Regions from separate parts of the Homo sapiens genome. Here all the other regions are linked to region 3. Evidence: promoter capture Hi-C in human tissues and cell types (Jung and others, 2019). All regions are on one chromosome and are shown on one strand. The core of a region is centred on a gene start or on the middle of the fragment in contact, and the rest is flanking DNA. Distances in the headings are between cores, read along the strand shown.

Evidence for each region. The method cuts DNA at HindIII sites, captures the fragments that hold promoters and counts their contacts. A contact is called where the count stands out against the background at its distance.
Region 1: a contact is called between a fragment that was not itself captured here and the fragment with the promoter of FSIP1 in region 3, in 1 of the 25 tissues and cell types used here (IMR-90 fibroblasts).
Region 2: a fragment that was not itself captured here is called in contact with the fragment with the promoter of FSIP1 in region 3 in 1 of the 25 tissues and cell types used here (IMR-90 fibroblasts).
Region 4: a contact is called between a fragment that was not itself captured here and the fragment with the promoter of FSIP1 in region 3, in 1 of the 25 tissues and cell types used here (dorsolateral prefrontal cortex).
Region 5: a contact is called between a fragment that was not itself captured here and the fragment with the promoter of FSIP1 in region 3, in 3 of the 25 tissues and cell types used here (H1 embryonic stem cells, IMR-90 fibroblasts and hippocampus).
Region 6: a fragment that was not itself captured here is called in contact with the fragment with the promoter of FSIP1 in region 3 in 1 of the 25 tissues and cell types used here (dorsolateral prefrontal cortex).

The regions. Positions count from the first base shown.
Region 1 is chr15:39,953,523-39,958,268 of GRCh38, reverse strand. EIF2AK4 (eukaryotic translation initiation factor 2 alpha kinase 4) reads right to left here. Exons shown (of 39, transcript NM_001013703.4): 5 at 4,285-4,365; 6 at 2,501-2,649. Among named protein-coding and RNA genes, the nearest start is that of EIF2AK4, 22 kb to the right of the region's middle. The HindIII fragment of the contact is 5,820 bases long and covers 1-4,746 here.
Region 2 is chr15:39,611,774-39,616,460 of GRCh38, reverse strand. The region is part of intron 11 of FSIP1 (fibrous sheath interacting protein 1); the gene reads left to right. Among named protein-coding and RNA genes, the nearest start is that of THBS1-IT1, 28 kb to the right of the region's middle. The HindIII fragment of the contact is 5,221 bases long and covers 453-4,687 here.
Region 3 is chr15:39,780,537-39,784,951 of GRCh38, reverse strand. FSIP1 (fibrous sheath interacting protein 1) reads left to right here and starts at 2,111. Exons shown (of 12, transcript NM_152597.5): 1 at 2,111-2,324. LOC105370941 (a long non-coding RNA gene) reads right to left here and starts at 2,046. Exons shown (of 1, transcript NR_135665.1): 1 at 1-2,046. RefSeq lists an enhancer at 1,872-2,001 and a silencer at 2,302-2,481. The HindIII fragment of the contact is 15,521 bases long and covers 1-4,415 here.
Region 4 is chr15:39,912,628-39,917,246 of GRCh38, reverse strand. All of the region lies in intron 1 of GPR176 (G protein-coupled receptor 176), which reads left to right. Among named protein-coding and RNA genes, the nearest start is that of GPR176, 5.3 kb to the left of the region's middle. The HindIII fragment of the contact is 5,160 bases long and covers 315-4,619 here.
Region 5 is chr15:39,937,152-39,941,888 of GRCh38, reverse strand. It overlaps EIF2AK4 (eukaryotic translation initiation factor 2 alpha kinase 4), which reads right to left. Exons shown (of 39, transcript NM_001013703.4): 2 at 2,272-2,384. Among named protein-coding and RNA genes, the nearest start is that of EIF2AK4, 5.4 kb to the right of the region's middle. RefSeq lists an enhancer at 1,878-1,967. The HindIII fragment of the contact is 4,750 bases long and covers 45-4,737 here.
Region 6 is chr15:40,010,006-40,014,488 of GRCh38, reverse strand. It overlaps EIF2AK4 (eukaryotic translation initiation factor 2 alpha kinase 4), which reads right to left. Exons shown (of 39, transcript NM_001013703.4): 27 at 3,143-3,208. Among named protein-coding and RNA genes, the nearest start is that of SRP14, 27 kb to the left of the region's middle. The HindIII fragment of the contact is 7,249 bases long and covers 1-4,483 here.

The DNA.
Region 1 (4,746 bases), core at 1,312-3,811, 170 kb before region 3:
CATGAGCTATTTTATAGAGGTTTTTTGGTTTTTTAGTTTTGCTTCTTCTACAAAATTCATATTGCCCACTTATGAGGAGCAACATCCCAGAAACAAGGCAGTGGGTTGGGGGGACTATGTCTGCACTTCACAAATACAGCCTCACGCTGAACTGTACACATTAAAATAGCTAATTTTATGTTTTTTGATTTTTACCTTAATATTCTAAAAAGTGAATCCTTCAAGGTGGGAAAAGAAGACTTGAAGCACAGAAAATAAAGTTCTTCAACAAAAGCCAAGACTCATCAGTGAAAAGCCTTTGAGTATCAGGCCTTTACGTTCTTTCCACTAGAATAGTGAGTGGTTCTCTTTTCTCTCTTTCTCTTCTTTTCAGCGTGAACATCTTTTGTTAAATAAAACCTCACTGGTTTTTTACATACCCCACAGATCAAGAGAAGCAAAACTGCCCTGGTTAAAGAGGCTGTAGACCCTACAAACACCAGAAACACAGTGTCCCACTTTCCCTGTGTCATCTTCCCTCCCTGGCTCCCTCCCTGCATCAGATGTTGACCAGGCACCTACCATGTGTCTTCCAGGCACGATTTCAGGCTTTGAGGAAAACACAGATGAGGGCTTTGCTCTCACAGACCTCACATTCCAAAGTAAACAAGTGAATAACAATTTCAGCTAGTGCTAAGTGTTATGTAAAAAATAAAGCAGAGAATTGGAGAGCAAGGGACAAAGCAGGGAAATAGGGTAGAGGGGGGCTCAGGAAGGCATCCCTGAGAAGGTTGCATTTGAGGGGAGAACTGAATGAGAAGGAGGGGCTCAGCAAGCAAAATGCCAGAGGTTGAGTAGTCCAGGCAGAGGGGTCGGCAGAGGCTCTGAGATGGGAAGGAGTTTGTTGCCCAGGCTGGTCTTGAACTCCTGGGCTCAAGTGATCCTTCAGCCTTGGCATCCCAAAGTGTTGGGGTCACACACATGAGCCACCGTGCCCAGCGTGCTATCTCTGATCTCAAAAACAAGCCTAACCTTGGATTCACTGTTTATAGTTAGCCACAAAAATAGAAATGTTTAAACTTAAAACAATCATCTTCCATATATCTGAAAAGACTTATTTATATCATTGATTTAATTCAAAGGTTCTAATACAACAAAAATTTGTTAGATATTTCCTAGTGAAATTCTCTGACAACTTCAAACTCTGTTGCTTATTAGAAGCCCAGATTCAAAAATAATTTAAATTGGGAAGGAGTTATAATCTTAAAAAGGAATGGTTACCAGAAACAGTATTTTTTTAAAAATTTAGTTAAACCTAATAGTAGGTAAACATTAGTGTCAAAATGATTTCTGAACTGTTTTTTTAGTAGTAGATAATTAGGGAAAGAACTAAAATGGCTCCTTCTAATAAACAAACTATACAGAAGTTTATATAAATCTTCAGTTTGGTGCCTAAAATGTTTCTTTTCATGGAAGCAAAGTGGTGGTTTTAAGTTGTGCTTAGAGTCTCACAAGAGATAATTTAAACATACAATGAAGGTTGAAGTCCCTACACTATTTAATAACCCACCCCACTCATAAATGGTTTCTTCACCAAAATTCCTTTCTGGTGTACAGGGGGCCACAGCAAATAGAGAGCAAAGTTGGAATTCTTCAGTGAAAAAGATATAGAAGAACAAGTAGTATCTTTTAAGTGACCAGTGGTGACAGGGAACAGCCCAGGAGCCCACCTCAGTATTAGGGAGGGGACCCCTGGCAGCCAACTGGGGTTCCTACTCTCATGTAACAGATGTCTCACCTGTGCTCATTTTCAGGCACTCCTTACAACTGTGGTGGGACCTAAGGCATTGTAGACTGAAACACTGGATGATGATGATTCAAATGGAAGAAAAATTTTAAAATCACTTACTGAATTTAAGTTTATAAATGTTAAATCGTACTAAGGCAAGTTTGTGATGTGTTATAGGCTGTTATAAAGGGGAATGAGGCTGGGTGTGGTGGCTCATGCCTGTAATCCCAGCATTTTGGGAGGCCGAGGCGGGTGGATCACGAGGTCAGGAGTTCGAGACCAGCCTGGCCAACACAGTGAAACCCCAACTCTACTAAACATACAAAAATTAGCCAGGTGTGGTGGCACATGCCTGTAGTCCCAGCTACTTGGGAGGCTGAGGCAGGAGAATCGCTTGAACCCAGAAGGCAGAGGTTGCAGTGAGCTGAGCCCGTGCCATTGCACTGCAGCCTGGGTGACAGAGCGAGACACCGTCTCAAAAAAAAAAAAAAAAAAAGGGAATGAGCAACAAAACTAGATTCATGATAGATACTTGGAAAGTGTTAAACGCAATTTAGTTTCATATTGCTAAAAATACACCTAATATATTGCTAATATATTAAGATATATAAGGTTTGAAAAAAGTTATTAAGACTATCGCCTGAAATTTCCATCAAATTTCACTACATCTTCAATGTAGTAAAATCCTTCTACATCTGTCATTCTCCCAGATCAGAAATCCCAGGGACTTACCTAGACCTTCCTGAGGAGTTTGCCCGATGTTTACCATTTCCTACAAAGTCAGGAGAGCCTCCATGTAGAATGGCAGCCGTTCTGTGTCCTCCTGGGTCCTTCTTAGAGGTATGATCTTGGTTTGACAAACTAGCAATTTCCAAACGTTCCTAGAACAAGAAAAGTAAAACTTACTTTAGATGTAAGTCATACATGGAAGAAAATCATGGTACATAATTATTAATTCAGTATAGAATGCAAATTTTAAGCTGAATGTTTACAAGTGAAATAAAATTGAACTTAACTTTTAATCGTTTAAAATAGCTAGAAGGAGGATATTGAATGTTTCCAACACAAAGAAATGCTAAATATTTGCAGTGACGGATGTGCTAATTACCCTGATCCGATCACTATACATTATATGTATCAAAACTTCACTATATACTCCATGAATATATACAACTATTATTGGTCAATTAAAAAATAAAATTAAAAAAATGTTAATGCCTAAATATGTACTGGCTCAAGAACTGAAGTCCAGGTTATGGTTTCAAGAAAATGTAAATTTTATAAATGAAAATGCTTAGAATCTTGCAATAGTGTAAAAAGTTAGGGAGAAGAGTAACAGGAGATGAACAGAAGAAGGGAGAATCAAAGAGAGGGCAGAGAGTGGCTGACAGGAAGGCAGGTCAGGAGCAAGACAGGAGCACTGGTGGAAACAGGGATCTCATCTTACATTTTTACGCAGGTTTAGTTTCACATAGGGCAGTACACTTATCTGTGGAGGTAATTATACAAGACAGAAAGAAAGGCATTATCAGTCCCATTTTAAGGGACAAGTAAAGAGAGTCACAGAGAATGTCACCTTGCCAAGGTCACAAAGTGAGGCAGCAGGAAAGCTGAAGCTTTAAACCAGGAGAAGCTTGCTTGTGCTTCAGTGCCTCTTCCTGCTACCACATCATGTCCCTTAAGTTTAATGCTCTAATTTATGTAAAAGAGAATGAGTAAAATTTTCTCTGAATTTCTCCAAACACGTCTGACTGGTTTTTTGCTTGAGCTAGACTCAGGAAAAATAAAGGAAAAAGCACTCTATCCTTTTTCACCACTGCCTTTTAAATCTGCTCTGTTGAATTACTCTTTTTCATCACTGGATGAAATTTCAGGCAGATCCATATGGTTTCTATTCCCTCTTCAGTATCAACAAATCATTTTATTTTCCAAGTATTAAGAATTCTAGGCCAGGTGCAGTGGCTCACGCCTGTAATCCCAACACTTTGGGAGGCCAAGGTGGGTGGATCACTTGAGGCCAGAAGTTGAGGACCAGCCTGGCCAACATGGCAAAACCCCATCTCTACTAAAAAATACAAAAATTAGCCAGGCGTAGTGGCATACGCCTGTAATCCCAGATACTCGGGAGGCTGAGGCATGAGAATTGCTTGAACCTGGGAGGTGGAGGTTACAGTGGGCTGAGATCATACCACTGCACTCCAGCCTGGGCGACAGAATGAGACTCTGTCTCAAAAAAAAGAACAATTTTAGTCCAGGTTAATTATTAAAGACGCAATCTCTTCCCTCCCTCATTTGATAAATTACAGTAATTATGTAAGTCTAAATCATCTACTGACAACATAAAACTCTAAATTTTGCCACCTATTTAGGGAGTCTGAAATACACAGTGAATATTTATTTATTTTTAGTGCTTTATTTTAAGCTGTATTACTGATAGTAACACAGATGTCATCAGTGGAAATAAAAACACTTTGTTTTGCAAAATGTAAATTATTATGGTGGAGTTGATAGGGTACCTGCTTAGCCATTTCTTTCCTTTTTTTCTCTTCTTTTATCTCTTCTTTCCTTCTCTGAATCTCATGCAGGATTTCACGTTGCTGAAATAAATCAAACCATCATCAAATGCCAATCTCTGAAACCCATACAACATATAAATTATGGAACTACAGAAAAATCTTTTAACTTTCAATAATTCAAACCCTCTCTTCCTAAGAGATCTGAAAACACAGCATCTTAGTACAAACTGCAGTTCTATCAGTTTTATCAGAGTTCTTACGCAATAGGCATTCCCATTTAAACAGGTTTGAGCGTGTGTGGGGAGGGGCATTTACTCCCCATTCTTCATGTTTCTATGTGCAGGAGATTTCCACTACAGCAACACTGTTGGCTTCTCACTTCTTCCGACACTTGTCTTAGCTCCTCCTGTTTGATATCTGCCTATCTGCAGAGAACAAGCACTTGTGCCTGCTCTCTGCCAT
Region 2 (4,687 bases), core at 1,814-4,313, 170 kb after region 3:
AAGTTTTCTGTCTTCTGTGAATGTCCAAGCACTTTGGTTTCCTATAGGATCACATACACACTCACCTTCTCTTCCTTAAAACTGCATAACATTTTTAAAAACAGAGACTCTATCTTGCAATTCATTGTTACATTTTCCATGGTGTCTAAAGTGCTGCCTTAAGCCAAGTGCCTGTTTAATAAATAAAAGAATTTAAATGTATAACCAGTTTTAGAATAAAACACTGAAAATATGGTTCACATTTATTCTTTACATTACCAATGAAAGTAGGTAATGTTGCTTAAGAATTATGTAAGTCACACATTCTATATAAATATTTGGATTTTTTGTTTCTTACATGAAATTTCGCAAGCTGTAATTTTTAAATTAATATTTTTTAGATTGGCATAATTATATACATTTGTGGGGTAAAGTATGATGATTTGATGTATGTATACAATGTGAGATGAGTAAATTAAGCTAATTTACATTATCTATCACCTCACTTACCATTTTTTTGTGGTAAGACACTTGAAATTTACTCTTAGTTATTTTGAAACATACAATATGTGATTAATGACTGTAGTTACCCTGCTGTGCAATTCATCTCAAAATTTATTCTTCCTAAGTGAAAACTGGTACCCTTTAGCCAACAACTCTCCATTCCCTTTTTCCCCCTCTTCATCCCCCAGCCACTGGTAACTGCCATTCTACTCTCCACTTCCATGAGTTTGACTTTTTTTTTTTTTTTTTGTATTTTTAGTAGAGATGGAGTTTCACTGTGTTAGCCAGGATGGTCTTGATCTCACCTCTTGATCTGCCCACCTCGGCCTCCCAAAGTACTGGGATTACAGGCGTGAGCCACCACACCCAGTCTCTTTCATCTTTTGATAATAGTTGTTATAACAGGTGTGATGTAGCATCTCGTTTTGATTTTAATTTACATTTTCTTAATGATTAATGATGCTAAGTATTTTTTCATGAACCTGTTGGCCATTTTTATGTCTTCTTTTGGGAAATGTCTGTTCAGGTCTTTTGCCTATTTTTTAATTTTTTTTTTTTTTTTTGCTATTGAGTTGTTTGAGTTCCTTATATATTTTGGATATTAACCCCTTATCAGATGTGTAGTTTGAAAATATTTTCTCCTACTTCACAGATTGTCTCTTTACTTTGTTCATTGTTTTCTTTGCTGTGCAGACACTTTTTGGTTTGATATAATCACATTTGTCTATTTTTGCCTGTGCCTTCAAGGTCGTATTAAAAAAAAGTCACTGCTCAGACCAATGTCATGGAGCATTTCCCCTGTTTTATTCTAGTAGTTTTACAGTTTTGGGTCTTATATTTGTGTCTTTAATCCATTTTGAGTTGATTTTTATACATGGAGTGAGATAAGGATCAAATTTTATTATTCTGCATATGGATATTCAGTTTTCCCAACACCATTCCCCATTGTGCATTCTTGACATCTTTGTCAAAAATCAATTGACCATAAATGCATGAGTTTATTACTGGGCTTTCTGTCCTGTTCTGTTGATTGACTTATCTGTTTTTATGCCAGTAGCATGTTGTTGCAATTATAATTGTGTTATACTTTGAAATCAAGGAGTGTGATACCTCCAGCTTCTTTTTTGGTCAAGATTTCTTTGGCTATTCAGGGTCTATTGTGGTTCCATACAGATTTAAGGATTGTTTCTTTTATATTTCTGTGAAAATGACATTGGATTTTTGATAGGAATTGCATTAAATCTATAGATGACTTTGGATAGTGTGAACATTTTAACCATTAATTCTTTCAGTCCATGAATATGGTACATCTTCTTTTTTTTTTTTTTTTTTTGAGATGGAGTCTTGCCCTGTCACCCAGGCTGGAGTGCAATGGCATGATCTTGGCTCACTGCAACCTCCGCCTCCTGGGTTCAGGCGATTCTCCTGCCTCAGCCTCCCGAGTAGCCAAAATTACAGGTGCGTGCCACCACGCCCGGCTAATTTTTTCTATCTTTAGTAGAGACGAGATTTCACCATGTGGGCCAGGCTGGGAACATGGGACATCTTTTAATTGATTTGCTTTTTCTTCACTTTCTTTCATCAGTGTTCTATAGTTGTCAATATATAGTTCTTTCACCTCCTTGGTTAATTTTTTTTATTAGAGACAATTGTTAATGGGATTGTTTTCTTAATTTCCTATTTAGATAGTTTGTTCTTAATGTATAGAAATGCTCCTGATTTTTGTATGTTGATTTTATATCCTGTAACTTTACTGATTTTTTTTTGTCACTTCTGACAGTTTTTTGGTGGAGTCTTTAGCATTTTCTATATACAAGATCATGTCATCAGCAAAGAGAGATAGTTTCATTTCTTCATTTCCTATTAGGATGCCTTTTATTTGTTTTTCTTGCGTAACTCTGGCCAGGACATTAAGTACTATGTTGAAAAAAAGTGGTGAGAGTGGGCATCCTTGTGGAAAAGCTTTCTACTTTTCACCGTTGAGTATGATGTTAGTTACAGATTTATCTTATATGGCCTTTATTATGTACTTTACCTCTATACCTAATCTGTTGAGAATTTTTATCATGAAATGGTGTTGAATTTTGTCAAATGCTTTTTCTTCATCTATTGAGATTATCATATGGTTTTTATCCTTCATTTTATTAATGTGGTATATCCCACTTATTAATTTGCATATGCTGAACCATCCTTGCATACCAGGGATAAAGCCCATTTGATCATGTGAATGATTCTTTTAATTGCTTTTGAATTCGGTTTGCTAGTACTTTGTTGAGGATTTTCACATCTGTGTTTATCAGGGATATTGGCCTGCAATTTTTTTTTCTTGTGGTATTCTTCTCTGGCTTTGGTATCTGGGTAATGCTGGTCTTGTAAAATGAGTTCAGAAGGCTTTCTTCCACTTCAGTTTTTTGGAAGAGTTTGAGAAGCACTGGTATTAGTTCTTCTTTAAATGTTTGGTAGAATTCAGTAGTAAAGCCATCTGGCCCTGGGCCTTTTTTTGATAGGAGGCTTTTTATTACTGAGTCAACCTCCTTGCTCATTAGTGGTCTGTTCAGATTTTTGTTTCTTTATGATTCAGCCTTGGCAGGATGTATGTGTCCAGGAATCTGTTCACATCTAGGTTATCCAATAAAATATCTAGGTTATTATATGTTGGCATATAATTTTACATAATTACCCTTTGTATTTCTTTGGTATCAGTTGTAATGTCTCCTCTTTCATTTCATTTTCGTTTTGTTTTAAATAAGCAGAAGTTTTGAGCTTAAAGACTTTAAAAAGTATTTGTTATTGCTTTCTAATCGCACAACAAATGTAAATTTGTTGAAGGCTATTTGAAACATACAGAAAAGTGTAGAAGATAAAATCATTGTCCAGACCTATTCATTGTTAATATTAACATTCATCTTTTTTCTAGTTGTGTATTTTAAATTGTCTTCATATTCTTCTTATAATATATTCTGATATTTTTTTCTTTTATATTTTGAGCATTCTGTGTTATTAAATATTCTTCTAAATCATTCATTATGATGGCTGCAATGTATCTTATGATGTATCATAATTTAAGCATTTCTTTATTTTTGGTCGTTTATATTAAGACTTTTTGTATAAGCTAAAACTATCATGAGACAAAAATATGGTCATAATCATTATCTTCCCATTACATGATGGTGTGATGAGTTCAGAGGATTTGATTTATTTGAGTTTTCTTTCTTTCTTTTCCTAGTTAGTCTAGCTAAGGGTTTGTCAATTTTGTTTATCTTTTCAAAAAGCCAATTCTTAGTTTTGTTGATTTTTTCTATTGTTGCTAGTCTCCATTTTGTTTATTTTGGCTCTAATATTTGTTATTTTCTTTCTTCTGCTAACTTTGGACTTAGTTGGTTCTTTTTCTAGTTTTTTGAGGTTTAACATTAGATTGTTTATTTGAGATTTTTTCTTTGATAATAAGCATTTATTGTTTTATATTTCCCACTTAGAACTGCTTTTGTCAGCATCCCATTAGTTTTGATATGTTGTGTTTCCATTTTTGTTTGTCTCAAAATATAGTTTGATTTCCTTTTTTCCCCCCTCTGACCTATTGTTTGTTTAGGAGCATGTTGTTTAATTTCCACATATTTGTGAATTCACCAAGATTTCTTGTTATAGATTTCTAGTTTCATGCCACTGTGATCAGAAAAGATACTTGATATGATTAAAATCCTCTTGAGTTCATTAAGACTTGTTTTGTGGCCTATCCTGGAGAATGTCCCATGTGTGCTTGAGAAGAATGTGTATTTTCTTGCTGTAGGGTGTGATGTTTTGTATATGAATGTGAGGTCCATTTGATTTAAAGTGTAATTCAAGTCCAATGTTTTCTTATTGATTTTCTGTCTAGATGATCTCTTCATCATTGAAAGTGGGGTATTGAGGTCCCCTACTCTTATACTATTGCAGTCTATCTCTCAGATCATGTAATAATTGCTTTATGTATTTAGGTGTTCCAGTGTTGGGTGTGTATATGTTTACAATTATGTCCTCTTAATGAAATGATCCCTTTATCATTATATAATGACCTTCTTTGTCTCTTTGTGTAGCTTTTGACTTAAAGTCTATTTTGTCTGATATAAGTATAGCTAACCCCTGCTCTCTTTTGGTTTTCATTTGCATGGAGTAACTTTTCCATCCCTTCACTTTGTCCATGTATTTTCTTACTAGTAAAGTGAGT
Region 3 (4,415 bases), core at 862-3,361:
GTAGGGAGTGTGGAGATGGGGATAATTATTTTATACAGGGTGGTTGGGAAAGGCCCTCCTGAGGAAGCGGACGCCTGAGGAAAGAGAGGAGCAAACCAGGTGGATAGCTGGGAAACTGTATTTCAGGCTGGTGTGTGTGTGTGTGTATTTGGACTGGAGGAACAACAAGTGTTTCCAAATTCCTGACAGATACTGATCTTTGGGATGCAGAAACAGGAAATCAGAATTACCAGCTGTTCTCAAAATCTTATTCTTAAAATATTCTCTACCTTCTTCATATTCTTTACTCATTATTACAAGTATCTGAAGCCTTTGTTTAAAAAATGAGAACTATTAAATTTAGAAGTGTTTACAAGAAGTGGGGTTTATAGCAAATATTCAAATGCTGGAAAACACAGAGAACATTATTGAGGAGTATTCAAATAATAGATCTCCTAGCAGGGTTAACTGTACTACCCAGAATCATGGGTTGGAAACTGTCAATTTAAGGATTTACTTTGAATCCAAAACCCGTTACTTTTTTGAACACTGCTCATAGAATTTGTATAAAGTATACAATGAGTATCAACCTATTTATATTTTATTTGCAAGAATGACTCACTGCCAGCGGCACACAGGGCCAGGAACATAGGCTTTCATGGCACCAACTACAAACAAGACTGACTGATGAGATTGTGGCCATGTCTCTCCCAAGTGCTCCTGACCTGGTTCCTGAAAATGTTCACCTCAACCTCGAACTCAGCATTTCCTGTGCTGGTTTTCAACTTGACATTGGTGAATTTCTTCAGTAACATCTCTAGGTCGGCTGCTAAGTTTTAATTCTCATAGGAGGATTAGGATACTTTCTCCCATTTTCTTCAGTTTGCAACTTTTTTTCTTTTGAGATTTGGAAAGCCACATAAATTCCCTGAGAAATGCTGGGAAGAAATCCCTGCACAGAAACACTAACAATGAGGACAGTGAGGCTGGAACCAGGTTTACCAGGGGAAAGCAGTAGGTAGGAGTGGAGGTCAGAGAGCCAACAGAAAGCCTTATCATTTAGAGATGATGTCAGTATGAACCTGAATGGAAGCACTGAAGTTGTGACGAATGTTTGGATTCTGAATATATTTTGAATGTTGAGCTGATAGGACAAATAGATTGTAGAGTGAGAGAGGAAGAAGAATTGAGGATGACTCCAAGGTTTTTGGTCTAGGCATGGCAGGCTGAAATTACCATTTGCTGAGATGGATAGAAAGTGGGTGGGGGACTCTGGAGAAGTTGTTTTTTCCCGTGTTAAGTTTGAGATGCTTACACATCTAAGTGGATATGCCAAATAGGCAGTTAGGTAAAGGAGTCTGGAGTTCAGGGAAGTCTGGGCTGGTGATAAGATGCAGGATTCAGGAGCATAGGGATGGCATTTATAGCCAGGTTTTTATACCCAGCACTCGCCTAGACTGCAGCTGTGTTCTTTCGGCAACTCAGCCTACGACTATTTGCTTCGCTGAAAAAAAACCACATCGTACCTAGTTAAAACAATGAGGACAAAGGGGCCATGAATGTGAAAATGCCCTGTAAACGGTAATGTGCTGTTCAGACTGGAAAGCAGGAGAAATGATGGCAATGGAGGTGAGGAAAATCAGTTTGTGGACGTAGGGAAATAATTTTCGTGCACTGAGAATTAGAGAAACTACGAAATGAAAGAAGGTGCAAAAAGCAATTATAACTCTTTTTGGACTGTAGCCGAATCTGTGCAAAACTCATATTTTTAAAATTTCCATAGCACCCCAAATTTACTAGAGCTTCACATACATGGTCTTTTTGAGCTGCACAAGTCTTGTAAGAAGGGAATTATTATTGTTCCCATTTTACGGAGGAGGAAACTGTGCTCGGAGAGGATAACTGACCTGTAAGGCATCACAGCAATATGAGGGACAGAGATACACAAGCATCCAGACGTCCGCGTTCCGAATCCAACCTAAAGACGAAAAATCGCTCCCAACCCCCACCGTCGGCAGCGAAGACGGAAGGACACACGCCGGCCGTCCCAGCTCGCAGGGCTCCAACAGCCGCCGGCCCCGGTCCCATTTCCGGATGGTACAGCCCTTTCCGCTATCGCGAGACCGGAAGCATCGCGCATCTGGTTGCCAGGGAAACAGCGGTCCCACAGGCAGGAGGGATCTGGACCGGCGGCTTCTTCCACTACCAGAGAGGCTGAGGTGGCGGGAGAGACCCCTCTCCTCTGGGGGTAAGTGGCTGGCGCGGCGAGTGTCTGCGGCGCGCTTCTGCGGCCATCTGCGCCCTGACTGACGGCGGCCAGTTCCTCGAGGAGGCCCGGCGGGAAGGTGAGGGGCCGCGCAGATGAGGGCGGAGCTCGGTCGCGGGGCGGTGCGCCGAGGAGTGGGCGGGGCGGAGCTGCGTCGGGCCGCTTGGCATGTAGATGGACTGTCAGGGAGAGCGGACAGGGCCAATGAGAGGGCGGGGGCGGGCTCATTGGGGGCGGGGCCCCAGCGGCTTCTGCCTCCGCGGAGGCTATTTCTCCAGGAATCACCTAACATTAGGACCTGTAACCAAGGCTTCTACTTTCCCGAGATTTGGATCTTCCCACCAAGATCTAGAACTGATCACCAGCCATTTAAACTAGACCGTAAACGGCAAAGGATGCAAATAGGCATTTCACAGGAAAAATAAAAAGATGCAAACAGCAAACAATTGATTAGAGACTCAACTTTTCTCGTGAAGAAATGTAAACCAAATTCACAGATACCTTTTACACCTATGAGACTGGAGAAGATGAAACAGCTTTGACATAACCAGATGGGCCCCAGCCCAGTGTAGGGGAAGTAGTGTAATTTGGTGCAGCCTTTTTGGAGTACAATTTGGCGAACTACCAAAATTTGAAACATAAGTGTTCTTTGACTCAGCAATTCTAATATATTTTATGGATGTATGAGCATAACTAAAGAAAGATTGGCACAAATATATTAACTTAAAATTGAGGTATAACTTACTTATGGTAAGCCTCACCCATTTAATCTACAGTTCTGTGAGTTTTGACAAATGTATACAGTTATGTAATTACCAACCACCACAATCAGCATACGGAAGTTTCATCATGAACCCCAAATTCCCTAGTGCTCTTTGTATTTAATCCCTCCCCTAACGCCATCCCTGGCAACAACTTCCTAGTTTTTTGTTCCTGTAATTTTGCCTATTCCAGAATGTCATATTGATGGAAGCAAACACCCTGTGGCCTTTTGAATCAGGCTTCTTTCAGCTTAGCATCATGCAGTTGCTATTCATTCATGTTCTGTGTATCAGTTGTTCCTTTATGTTGCTGAGTAATAGTCCATTGTATGGATCTACGGTAGTATATTTATCCATTTCCTACTTGAGGCATATTTGGATGAGTTCTTTCCAGTTGTTGGCTATTATTGATGAAGCTGGTATAAATATTCATGTACAGGTTTTTTTTTGTGTGTGTGAATATGTTTTCATTTCTTGGGTAAATATGAATGAGATTGTGGAGTCATATGGTAAATATATGTTTAACTTTATAAGAAACTGCTAAGCAGTTTTGAAAAGTGATGATTTTGCATTGTCATTGGCAATATGAGTGTTACAGTTGCTCTCCAACTTTGTCAGCACTTGGTATTGTCAGTTTTCTAAAAAATTAATTTTTGTCATTTGAATAGGTGTGTAGTGGTATCTCATTGTGATTTTTATTTTATTTTTTTGAGGGGTAATGATGTTGAACATCTTTTCATGTGCTCTTTTGCCATCCGTACATCATCTGGGGTGATGTGTGTGTCCAAATCCTTTGTTTTCTTGTTATTGAGTCTTGATACTTGTTTATATATTCTGGATATGAGTCCTTTGTCAGATATGTGTTTTGCAAATATTTGCTCCTAGTCTTTGGGTTTTGTTTTCCTTGTCTTAACATCTTTTGAAGACTACAAGTTTTAAATTTTGATGCCTTCCAATTTATCCATATTTTCTTTTATGAATCATGCCTTTGATGTTGTATCTAAGAAATTTTTGCCTAACCCACAGTCACATGTATTTTTTAGAAATTTTATAGTTTTGGCCAGGCACGGTGGCTCACCCCTGTAATCCCAGCACTTTGACAGGCTGAGGCAGGCAGATCACTTGAGGTCAGGGGTTCGAGACCAGCCTGGCCAACATAGTGAAACCTGTCTTTACTACAAATACAATAACAATAACAACGACAAAAAGAAAATTTTATAGTGTGAAGTTTTACTTTAGGTCTGTGATACATTTTGAGCAAGTTTTAGAATTGCTTTTAATAGCAAATATTCTATATACCACCTAAGTGAACTGATGAAAAAAGTGCTGCATCTATGGGATATTATGCTGTTGTTTGAAAGCATGACGTATATCTATAAATGGTGATATAGAAAAATAGATAAAATAAA
Region 4 (4,619 bases), core at 1,645-4,144, 130 kb before region 3:
GCAGGATCTCAGCTCAGCTCACTGCAACCTCTGCCTCCCGGCTTCAAGTGATTCTCCTGCCTCAGCCTCCCAAGTAGCTGGGATTACAGGTGCCCGCCACCACGCCTGGCTAAGTTTTTGCATTTTTAGTAGAGATGGGGTTTCACCATGTTGGTCAGGCTGGTCTCCAACTCCTGACCTCAGGTGATCAACCCACCGCAGCCTCCCGAAGTGCTGAGATCACAGGCATGAGCCATGATGCCCTGCCTACGTACTGGTATTCTTGATTCATTGTTTTCTAAGGACTTGTCCCATTCAAACACATCTGTGTACATTAGAATTCTGATAATGTCTGTTGAGGCTCAGAGCTTAAGTTTCAAAGCCATGTGCAGTCAGAAGCAAGGCAAGAAAACTTGGGAAGCACATTTCATAAAGCCTCCAAATAGAGAAAAATCATAGATTAGGAATAAAAGAAAAGGAATCTGTATGATTGAAAAGTAAATTGTGGGAGGATGGAATAGTACCTGGAAAAAATAACTGATTAAGTAACTTACTTTTCTTATTTCTTCTGCCCCCAAACATAGACAAATTCGTTTTTCTTTATTTTTTTCTCTTGAAACAAATTTAAATATACTTCTTATATTCTCTAAATAGACTTCTTTTTTATTGGGATTTCCAGAGGACCATTATTATGTGAAAATAATTCATTTGTACTACTGGTGTCTTGTACCTCTTTTTGAAAACTGTTTTAGTGTCTTGTATTAGGAAAAATCCCTAAGAACTTGGAATAACTGTAATATTCCAACCAGAAGGAACATTATTTGCTGTGTTGAAAATGAACACAAGGCTTGTACATAATATTATTCAAATAATATGTATTTTGGGGGTTTGCGTAAACCAGTGTTTCTCAGCCTTCTTTATACAACATCTTGGCATATCTTTAGGTATGTTGTAGATACTGAAATAGAGTAAAATAATTTAGATTCCTCTTCAATGGCACCAATCACTTTTAGTAGTCAAGAGTGTGAAATCAAAGACTCCAAAAGATCTGGAATCACCATTTCCAATTGAACTGGAAATGGTGGATTGAACTCCTCAGAGTTAATATTTCTCTTTTTCCCCTTCTCCTTAGATTCACAGTCTAAGTACCAAGAGAACTGGGCTCCTCTCTGGTGCTTTGACTTGAAAAAGGTAGGTGGCTATGATCTAGCCTATTACCTCTGAGCTCCTCCTACACAGGTTGCCTGTCATCTGTGGCAATCATCATCAGAGGTATAAGAGATTTTTATAAATGAATTTGCTTTTATTTAAAGAAAATTAACATGGTGGGCAATAACCCACAAGTATGTATCCTACATTGCAATTTATTTTTTAATTCTTTTTGTTTTGAGATGGCGTCTCACTCTGTCGCTCAGGCTGGCGTGCAGTGGCACAATCTTGGCTCACTGCAACCTCTGCCTCCTGGGTTCAAGCAATTCCCCCTGCCTCAGCCTCCCAAGTAGCTGGGATTACAGGTGCCTGCCACCACGCCCAGCTAATTTTTTTTTGTATTTTTAGTAGAGACGGGGTTTCACCAAGTTGGCCAGGATGGTCTTGAACTCCTGACCTCAGATGATCCATCCGCCTCACCCTGCCAAAGTTCTGGGATTACAGGAGTGAGCCACTGCGCTCAGCTGATTTTTAACATTTTTTAAATAGAGAAATCAGCTTTCCTTTGTCTGGCTAGACCGCAAAATGTATGGTTCTTATTCTTAAGCTATATTCCCTTTCCTTTATAGACTGAATGTTTATATTCCCCCTCAAATTCATATGTTGAAGCCCTAATCCCCAATGTCATGTTATTAGGAGGTAGTACCTTTGGGAAATAATTAGGTTTAGATGAGGTCATGAGGATAGAGTTCTCAAGATGGAATTAGTAACATTATAAGAAGGAACTAGAGAGCTTGCCCTCTCTTTCTTTGCACCATGTGAGGATATAGCAGAAGGCAGCTGTTTGCAAACCAGGAAGAAGGCCCTCCCCAGAACCCAACCACGTTAGCACTCTGATCTCAGACTTCCTAACCTCTAGAACTGAAAGAAATGTCTATTTTTAAAGCCACCCAGCTTTTGGTATTTTGTTATAGCAGCTGGAGCAGACTAATACACTTATGAATGGTCTGTAGTGAGCATGTGAAATTGATGACCCCAAGTAAAGATCCAACTTGCCTGTGGCTTGATTCCATGAGGTGGTTATTGAAGTATTCATTTGAAGGGAAAGGTGGGAAATCGACTTGTTAAATCTGTTCAGCAGATCTGTTGGATAGACACTAGTTTTGCTCATGCTTGCTTATAGTCTTTGAGCAAAATCATATGGGGTACCAGCAAGGTTCATGGTACTTGTTTGATAGAGAAGTATACTTGTGCTTTTGATATTATTTGAAATTAACCAGAGAATAGCTGGATTATTCTTGGAGTTCCTTAGTTAAATGTTTGATAGAAGATGTGTTAATACTATAATACTAGTTTGCACTTATAATTTGTAATTACTCAGGATCATTTTTAGTTAACAATACTTACAGCCAATAATAATATAATATCAACAGCCTTACTTCTACATGGAGTTTCTGTCTTTTGTATGCCTAAAAACCTAGCAGACTACGTTAAGAATAAGGTATCCTGGGCCAGGTGTGGTGGCTCATGCCTGTAATCCCAGCACTTTGGGAGGCCAAGGCGGGCAGATCACTTGAGGTGTTCGAGACCAGCCTGGCCAACATGGTGAAACCCTGTCTCTAGTAAAAAATACAAAAATTAGCCGGGCATGGTGGTAGGCGCCTATAATCTCAGCTATTCAGGAGGCTGAAGCAGGAGAATGGCTTGAACCCAGGAGGCAGAGGTTGCAGTGAGCAGAGATCGTGCCACTGTACTCCAGCCTGGGTGACAGAGTGAGACTCCTTCTCAAAAAAAAAAAAAAAAAAAAAAGAATAAGATATCCTGAATTGATGCCTAAGGAGGCAGGAGGTGGTAGGATCAATAGTTACTAGCTTAATATATTGAATCAAATTGCCTCACATTGTCTTTTATTTCTATATGATGTCTATATGATAGAATTCTTCCTGGAAATTAAATTCTCTGGTGAAAATTTAAAAAAAGCTTTATTGAGATAAAATTCATACAATATAGAATCCATCCAATTAAAGAGTACAACTCAGTGGTGTTTTTTGTTTGTTTGTTTGTTTGTTTTTTGAGACTGAGTCTCACTCTGTTGTCCAGGCTGGAGTGCGGTGGCGCTATCTCAGCTCACTGCGAGGTCCGCCTCCCAGGTTCACGCCATTCTCCTGCCTCAGCCTCCCGAGCAGCTGGGACTACAGGCACCCACCACCATGCCCGGCTAATGTTTTGTATTTTTAGTAGAGACAGGGTTTCACCGTGTTAGCCAGGATGGTCTTGATCTCCTGACCTTGTGATCTGCCTGCCTTGGCCTCCCAAAGTGCTGGGATTACAGGCGTGAGCCACCGCGCCCGGCCAACTCGATGGTTTTTTAGCATATTCACAAAGTAGTGCAACCACTACTACTACTGAATTCCAGAAGGTTTTTATCATCCCATAAAGAAACCATGTAACCTAAAGAAACCATGTATCCTTCGGTAGTAGCACTGCCTTTTTCCCCTCAATACCTTGAGCCCTAGGCAATCACCACTCATTTAGTTTCTTTCCTTCTTTCTTTCTTTTTTCTTTTTTTTTTTTGAGACAGGGTCTTATTCTGTCTCCCAGGCTGGAGTACAGTGGTGCGATCTCAGTTCACTGCAACCTCCACTTCCCGGGCTCAAGTGATTCTGCAGCCTCAGCCCTCTGAATAGATGGGACTACAAGTGTGTGCCACCATGCCCATCTAATTTTTGTACTTTTTGTAGAGATGGAGTTTTGCCACATTGCCCAGGCTGGTCTCAAACTCCTGGACTCAAGCAATCCGTCAACCTCAGCTTCCCGAAGTGCTGGGATTATAGGTGTTAGCCTCCAGGCCTGGCCCTACTTTCTGTTTCTATAAATTTACCTGTTCCATAGATCTGTCACACAATATGTGGTCTTTTGTGACTGGCTTTTTTCACTTAGCATAATATTTTCAGGATTCATCCATGTTTTAGCATATATTAGCACTTTATTTTTTATTGCTGAATCATATTTCATTGTATGGATATATTACATTTTGTTTATCCATTCGTTTGATAGACATTTGGGTTGTTTCTACTTTTTGGCAATTATGAATAATGCTGCTCTGAATATTTACGTACAAGTTTTTATGTGGACATGTGTTTTCAGTTCTCTTGAGTATATACCTAGGAGTGAAATTGCTATATCATATGGTAACTCTTCTTTTTAGGAACTGCCAGACAGCTCCAAATATCCCTGGTTCTGTAATGAATATACTTTTGTTTTATTTGGTGACATTTTGTAGACTAGGAGGAAATTTGTCTCAAAATGGGAACAAAGAAACATAGCTATGTTTTCCTGTGGGATGTCCAAGTCTCAAAGTCTCTTGTCCCTAGAGTTTGCCAAACAATTTCTGCATATGTCACTTAATCTAAATCTAAATAAGCCATTTAGATTCTGTAGTGACTGGGAACTGTTGTGAAAGGTTGTTTTTTCCTTTTCTTTTCGTTTTT
Region 5 (4,737 bases), core at 1,170-3,669, 160 kb before region 3:
ATAGTTATCTAGTGCCATGATTCTTAACCAGGGGTGATTTTGGCCCCAGGGGATATCTGCCAACATCTGGAGACTTTTTTTGGTTGCCACAACCTGGGGAGAAATGTACTCCCGACATCTAGCAGACAGAGGTCAGGGATGCTACTAAATATCCCACAATGCCCAGGAAGGACCCCACAACAAAGAGTTATCTGCCCACATGTCAGTAGTGCCAAGGTGGAGAAACCTCACTCTAGTATTTGACATTTAGATTGCTTCCAATATCTTTGCTTTCACAAATAATGCTATAATTAATATTTTAGCACTTATATAACATTATAGCACTTATACCTTTTTCTTTATTTTGATTTTTCAAGAATAAACACTTTGAATTCTTGAGGCTATGGTATAATAAAAAAATATATATTTGATATTTGACCCCTGTTCCTGGCACAGAGATCCTATCACCCTTGGAATTTCCTGAGCAACAGGGGTGAGAGGAGCATCTTATGTTTTTCATAACAAACCCCTTCCAACCATACCGGAGTTAGTACTCATGAGGGAACTCTGGTCAGTACCTGGATAGCTTCAGGATCAGGACTGGTCACCAGAAAAACCAAGCCTTGATTACAGGGTGAGAAATTTCAGCCCCATCCCAGATCTTTAGGGAGGAGTAGGGGGCTGAAGATCAAGTTCAATCACCAGTGGCCAAAGATTTAATTAATCAATCATCTCTACATAATGAAACCTCCATAAAAACCCCTAAACGACAGGGTTCAGGGAGATTCTTGGTTGAAGAACACAGGGAGGTGCTGGGAGGGTGCCAGGCCTGGAGAGGGTATGGGAGCTCTGTGCCTCTTCCCACACACCTTACCCTTCATAATACTTCCATGTGGCTATTCCAGAGCCATATCCTTTACAACAAACTGGTAAATGTAACTCACAGAAACTGAGTTCTGTGATGCATTCTAGCAATTATCGCAACTTAGGAGGGGGTGGTGGAAACCCCTAAATTTATAGCCAGTTATAAATACTGGCTATAAATGGTCAGAAGTACTGGGACTTGCCACTAGCATCAGAAATGGAGGCAATCTTGTGGAACTGGGTCCTTAATCTGTGGGGTCTTTGCTAACTACAGATAGTGTCAGAATTGAACTGAACTACTGGACACCCACATGGTATCAGAAAAGGCATCATGTATTTGGTGTCAGGAAAAAAAAACAACCTAGAGAGGCACTCTTTTAATTTCCTTTCATAAATTTTTAATTATCTTTTTCATTAATGTTTTATAATTAACGTTTCGTTAATTAATATTTTTATAGTATGTATAGTATACCTACTATAATACTCTCAGGACAGTTTTGGGGGCCAAGAATGGTTACTGACTTCAAGGAGCTCAATTTTGACTTATCTGTCTTTTCATATCCTCCCTATCACTTCTTAGGATAATAAATTCCATAAATTTACCACCCACTGTGTAAAGCAGAGTTTCCTTTTACTTGTCCCTTTCCATCTCAAAAACCTTCACTGGTTCCCCATACAATAATTTCAAACTACTTAACGCCATCCAGGCCAACCTGCCTTTCCATGTGGGATGGGTGGGGAAAGATTACACCAAATAGACATGCTTAAGTGCTGATGGCTAACACTTTGGCTCTAACTAGTTTTTCTCAACCAGAGGTGACATCACCTTCAGAGGGAGTCTGGAAATATGTAGGTTATTTGGTTGTTTCAATGCCTGGAGGACACTCGTGGCATTGGTAGGTGGGGGCCAGGGATGCTAAACGTACTGCAGTGCACAGCACAGCCCTGCACAATGGACACTCGCCAGAGTGCCCCATTGAGAGGCAGGACAGATCCAAATACTCTCCCTCACTCTAGGCAGTGAAAGGTCATCTGAGGCACAGACTTGCTGAATTTCTAATACCAGCCACACTCTAACTATGCAAGGGCTTTCAACAGTCACCATGCCTTTATTGTTTTCTTCCAAATTTTCCTCTTCCTAACTTATGAAGAAATAAATAAACAAAAGTTAACACATCAGAGGAAGCAAAATAGTCACTAGGCAAATATAAGTATCTGTAGTGACAATTCTATAACTATGAACAGGCTTAAAATGAGACAGGTTTCATGAAAACATCTATTGCTGATGTAGTTTTGTTGAAATAGAGGAAATGAAATTTTATGTGGAATGGGAGCAGGAAGGAGAAAATACTACGAATTTCAATCTGTTTCTATGTTGTCAAAACAGAAAACTGAAACCACGTCAAAGCTATTTATAAATGTACTCACACATCTGGATAGGTAGGTGGGCATTTAACCCTCAAATCCACTTTTACATATACTTCTTCACCAGTTAGGCCTTGAGGGTACAAAACTAAATTGATTTCAGGGGGCTCTTTGACCTAAAAGAGGAAAAACAAAAAAAATTTTTTTCAAAGCTGTAGAGCCAATCATTAATGATTAAGATAATGATCATTTTAGATCAAAAGTTCTACTTTAAAAATATTTGTAATTATATTTTAAATAGATAATCTGGCATACTTTCCAAAAGCATGATTTAAAAACAAAACCTAAGCCAGTGAAAATGCACTTTCCTTTTTTAAGTTATCTAAGGAATGAACCAAAATGTTCCACTCAGCTTCCATTCGTTCAGATGTTACTGAGTTATTATGCCTGGGTGCTCTCCTGGAAGCTGGGAGTGCAGGGGTAAATTTAGACAGACACAGTCCCAACCAGCTGATACAAACTAGAAGACGAGTGATTTCAAATAGTGATGAGTGCTGTAAAGAAAACAAAGCAGAGTAGAGGGACATAGTGGTGGGCGAGGAGAAGGTATCTGGACAGGTAGGTCAGTGAAGGACTCTGCGAGCAGGGGAGATTTGAATTGAGATCTGAATACTGAGATATTAACAAATGAAAACCCTTGACAAGGAGAGAATTGCATATGTTTTCAATCAACTACTTTTCACCAAATCGCAAAATACCCTTGTTCTTCAATTTAGATACACTTTTTCCAAAGTGGATTTGAAGTAGTTCATATTATATGTATATAATGAACAAGGGGAGTCTGAGAGAAAAAACAATGGCTGAGCGCTCCCATGGTCCAGGCACCTTACCAACTTTGCAAGGCAGGTGTCATCTCCATTTTACAGATACAGAAGCTCAGGCTCAGGGAGTTTTACATTCTTGCCTACAGATACACAGGGACAGAGCTGGGATTCAAACCCAGCCTTAACTCCAAACCCTGTCTCCTCCCATAAGCCACTCTTTTATTATGCCATCCTAAGTTGCTGGGATTGAGCCTTGATTTTTTTCTCTGAATGTCCTGGCAGGCAGGGCAAAAAGAGAAACGTGGTATCATCAGAAAAGAGAAAGCCTAAAAATTATTTTAGGGAAGCAAAGTACTTATAATACTAAATTCTAACAGAAATTTATAACGTGAACCTTACAAGGAGTACCATATAATAAACACTGTACTCTTCTACTATGTGTACAAAATTTGTAAGATCAGTTCTTATATGGCTTTATAATAATCCTTGATAAATGTGTGGGTCCTTCCATAAAGCATAATTCTGCGAATGTGGTCTGGGGAAGGGTTAAGCACTCTTTGGTCCACAGGTCTTTCATCCACTCATTCACCCATCACACATCCATCACCCATATTTGCTAAGCACTGACTCTGTGTCAGGCACTGTGCTTAGTCCACGGAGGTGAGAACACAGATATGGTTCCAGCTCTCATGGAACTTCAGTCTGGTGGGGGAAAACAAACATAATAAACACATAAGTACAAGCTTAGAGAGTGCCGTTGAAGAGATGACGTGGTGCTCTCCTTAACAAACGACTTGGGGTGTGAGGGTATATACTTAAATGTGGTTATCAAAGAAGAACTATCTGAGGATGTAGCATTGAAGCTGAGACAAGCCAAGAGACCAAGCATTCCAGGCAAGGAAAAAAAGAGACTTGAAATACATTTGAGAATTATTTCATTCAGTAACAATTTTTGAAAGTTTTTTGTTTGTTTTACCAGGCACTGGGCTTGTAGGAATGGCATTTCAAATGAGTGGAAGACACTGAAAAATTCAATTGCCTATATTTGTCTAGCTGCCTAGCTGGAGGAGGAGGGATGCACACGGGGAGGTGGCCTAGGCCCGTACTTTGATGGAACGAAGAACTTAAAAAAAAAAACCTACTTATATCTTTATTTGATGAAAATTTAAAAACGAAGTCATGAACAAGTTAAAAGTAAACTTTGACGAATTTGGTTTTTAGTAACATTGGAACAGAGGGGGAAAAAAAACCCACAGGGACCATAAAAGAAAAAAAAGGTCATTTTGACTCTATCAACATTTTTTAAATCACATAAATTACGTAAATAAATGCATATAATTAGGAGAAAAATATATGCATTATATGACCCAAAATGCTAGTTTTCTTAAGATATTTAGCTCTTACAAATAAACAAGAAAATGGACCACAGAGTAGAAAAATAAACCAGAGTATGAGCAGTTCACAGAAAAAGAAAAATCAATGGTTTGTAAACAAAGGTGTTCTAGATAATTTATAAATAAATAAAAATTAAAATGAGATATGTTTCATTTATGTGGCAAAGATGAAAAAGTCTAACATATATAGTATTGTTGAAGATAAAGGAAAACAAACACCACCATACACTACTGGGGGATCCAGGGATTGAAGCAAGTTTTTTGGAGGGATGTTTCCAAAAGCTATCAAATTATAAATGAGCAGACCTTTT
Region 6 (4,483 bases), core at 923-3,422, 230 kb before region 3:
CTGTTGCTTCAGAGGGTTCAAGCCCCAAGCTTTGGCAGCTTCCATGTGCTGTTGAGCCTGCAGATGCACGGAAAACAAGAATTGAGGTTTGGGAACCTCCGCCTAGATTACAGAGGATGTATGGAAACGCCTGGATGCCCAGGCAGAAGTTTGCTGCAGGGGTGGGGCTCTTATGGAGAACCTCTGCTAGGGCAGTGCAGAAGGGAAATGTGGGTTTGCAGCCCCCATACAGAGTCCCTACTAAATGCTAGTCCATGGAAGCATCCAGGAGGGAGGCTGTACCCTGCAAAGCCACAGGTGGGGAGCTGCCCAAGGCCATGGGAGCCTACCCCTGGCATCAGCATCACCTGGGTGTGAGACATGGAGTCAAAGGAGATCATTTTGGAGCTTTCAGATTTGACTGCCCTGCTGGATTCTAGACTTGCATGGGGCCTTTAGCCCCTTTGTTTTGGCCAATTTCTCCCATTTGGAATGGGTGTATTTATCCAATGCCTGTACTCTCATTGTATCCAGGAAGTAACTCACTTGTTTTTGATTTTACAGGCTCATAGGCGGAAGGGACTTGCCTTGTTTCAGATGAGACTTTGGACTGTGGACTTTTGAGTTAATGCTGAAATGAGTTAAGACTGTGGGGGACTGTCAGGAAGGCATGATTGGTTTTGAGATGTGAGGACATGAAATTTGGGAGGGGCCATGGGTAGAATGATATGGTTTAGCTGTGTCCCCATGCAAATTTCATCTTGAACTGTAGCTCCCACAATTCCCCTGTGTCATGGGAGGGACCCAGTGGGAGGTAATTGAATCGTGGGGGCGGGTCCTTCCCATGCTGGTCTTGTGATAATGAATAAGTCTCACGAGATCTGATGGTTTTATAAAGAGGAGTTCCTCTGCACAAGTTCTCTCTCTTTGCCTTCTGCCATCCATATAAGATGTGACTTGCTCCTCCTTGCCTTCTGCCATCCATATAAGACGTGACTTGCTCCTCCGTGCCTTCTGCCATGATTGTGAGGCCTCCCCAGCCATGTGGAACTGTGAATCCATTAAACCTCTTTCCTTTATAAATTACCCACTCTCGGATATATCTTTATTAGCAGTGTGACAGCAGACTAATAGAGGGATTAAAGATAAAAATTTTGGCTGGATGCAATGGCTCACGCCTGCTATCCCGCTATAAAAAAGAAAAAAAAATTAAGTGGGAGGCTGAGGCAGAAAGATCTCTTGAGCCCAAGAGCTTGAGGTTACAGTGAACTATGATTGTGCCACTGTAATCTAGCCTGCGTGACAGTGCAAGACCCTGTCTCAAAAAAATAAAAAGAAAAAAATTTAAATTTAAAATCATGTATTCGATTTAAAATATTTTTTTAAGAAAATAAAAATGATTTCTTCTCTATAAATTTGAACATTAAATTACCCCAATAATAAACTACCAGAAGCACTGAAGTCAATATCTCCAGATTTTGGTCCTCACCCTATCATCAACTAACTCCATGTGACTCAGGACAAATCACAACATCTCTTTGGGCCTCAGGTGTCTCATTTGTGAAATAAGAGGACTGGGTCAGATATGTGAAACTCTTTGGCAATATTTCTACTCCCCTTCCTAATACCCTTAGAGTCCATTTTAAAATAATCAAAGTACCAAATGCCTTTATTAGATACTATTTTTCTGTTTTTAACTGAATCAGACACGTCTAATTAACACTTAGCATCATCGAATAACCAGTGGTTAGAGATTTAACAGAAAGAAAAGAAGTTGACATGTGAACAACCAATGTGGCTATTACGTCCGAATGTATATTTATAAGACTTTCTTAAAAAAAAAAAAAGATGTTCTGAAATGTGACTTTAGTCCAAATAACCTTTTGGGTTGGAAACTTGGGTATAGAATCATTGAACTGAGCAGTCTTGTGCAGATTCTCTGTGCTATTTACACATGGGACTATTTCTGCACATAGGTGTGTGCTGTGTACATGTTTAGATTATATGTAAATACTGTATATTGTCCTTCATATTTGGATATTTAGCTGTTGTGTTACTTTGCATATCATTACTATCTCCCCCAATATTAAATATTTAAGATTTAACCTGGCTCAATTTTCAGAACTCCTAGTGCTATGCATCTGGTTTACTTTCCCTACCCGCAAAGGGGTGATTTCTTTGAACTCTGGTTTCCGTGTGCCCTCTGAAAGCTGTTTTACAGAGTTGAGGGCAGATACATGCTGTGCATATCCCCTTATGGCTTTTTAAAGGCCAATATGAACCAAGAAGCTGAATGCAGTCTATGGACTCTTCTTTATATCCCTGCCATTGTGCCTGCCACACTGTAGGTGTCCGAAAGATTGAGTGACTCTTCCTGCCCTGTGTACAATCATATTTTAATCTATCCCATATGTGAATTTTGCTGATCAATGCAAGATCATATAATTGAGTGTCAGACAAGGGCCTAGACAGGTTCCGGGAAATTAAAAAAAAACTTTCCTTATTTAAATATTCAGGAAAATGTACAAAATCCCTGTTGTATTCTGTTGTTCAGCTACTCAATTAAGTGTGGGTTACTGTACCAAAGATCTGGGATCAATCTGATGCCTACAGAGAGAATATGACCAAACTGTTTATTCCATAAGATTTCCCTTATTGATGATGGGATCAAATGTAAGATTTTAAGATTAAGAGATATACCAGAAAAGCTAGAGCTTTAATTCAACTCTGAGGAGTTAGAAGACATGGAGGTAGGGGAAGGGTAGCTCCCCAGATGAATTTGCAGAATTCTGTGCCTCCTTCTAGTCCTGTATAATCTAATTCAAAAGAGGACAACTGGTATTAGGTATGTTCAGCAGGAGGCTCTACCAGGCACAGCTCTATAAGGGGTGACAAAGAAAAGTATCTGCTGATCAAGAAAGAGCAGGATGATTACAGCGTATCAAGAAGAAGCATGGAGAGACATTCTTTGATCACAGCATTAGTTTCTCCCTTCTCCTAATCCCAGAGGTTGCCATGGTACCTAACACTCAAGGGAAAAACTGCATCTGCGAGGTGGTAGGAAGCGCTGGCTGCTACCCTACTGCAACGAGAATTTGATGACATTTTCTGGTATCACAAAATTACAGAGAAAGCTGTAATAATACCATTAGAAGGTACTTACACTATTAGAAGACAAAGACAGATTACAAAATTTAGCTTCCACTTCTCTCCTCGTCAGCTTCTCTGTCTAACGTGGAAGAAAAAGGTAACAATGAGAGTCGCGAAATCTGGCACTGAACAAGACACAATTTCCAGGCGAATTCTAACAAGTATAGCCTTCATTTTGAACAAACTGCTCCTAATGGTACAGGATAGATTGAATTCTGTGATTAAAAAATTTTTTCTCCCAATTCACACAAAACCGTAATTAACTTATTTTAAAATCTGAAAAACCCTGACAAAAGAATTAAAAGGGGAAAGTTGTACTTGCTGAATGGTGAGGTGACCCAAATCTGGACAGGCTTAATGAGGGCATTTGTTTGGGCAGGGAGGGAGTCATTTTGCTCTGGGCTCCCCTAACAAAGGCCAGGCTCTGGGCATTTCATCCCACGCTGGCAGATGTGCCGTAGCCGCAGGACATGAATCAGTAAGAGCTGAAGCCCCTTGCACAATCCCTGGGGTTTCTGCCAGTGTCCGATTGACATCATATTGTATCTGTCACTGACAAACAGCAGCAGAGCTTTAGGGGGAGTAAAGAACCACTAAGAAACAAGCAGTAAAGTTTGGGCCATTGATGTGTACCTGCCAGATGAAAGAAAAGCTAGTTAATCCTTTTGGTGTATAAAAACAATAAGCCATTATGTGAGGACTTCCACTACTCTGTCTTAACCATAGACTTCTGGTGCTGTTAGTTCTTACATCTCCTGGATGCCTCTTATTCATTATGAAAACAAAACTTAACATGAAAAGATATTAGAAAACATAAGCATTCACTTCCATCTTAGCATCATAATATAACACTAATTCATTTTTTCAATGCGTCCCCTTCCAGTCTCTGTACCCGCACATATACTATAAAGTAATGAATACTATGATGTGACTAAATTAGGGAAGAGTAACTGGAGGTGCCATAGCCTCAGTCCCACAGGAAGGAGGTGGTAAATGAGGCCCCACCAGAGTTCGAAGCCATTCTGCCTTAATTCAATCAATGCAAATCTATACATGACTTTACTGATAAGCACAGGCAGACTGGAAGAATCAAGGGCAAGGCACACTGTTTATTCTCAACATGAACAGTTGCTCTCGGTCTCTAAAGGAAAGGTAATAGCAGCACTGGTGTGAGAATGAAGTGAGTTCATCCATCAGAGGAGCTCAGAACAATGCCTAGCTCACAGAGCGGGGCTCAGTCAATGTTAACTATCTTTGAAATTATTATTGGCAAGTATCAGGACCAATTACTTAGTGATTTGCCTTAATAAGTAGGTTGGTGAATAACTTTACTATCTGACAAATTAAATAATTT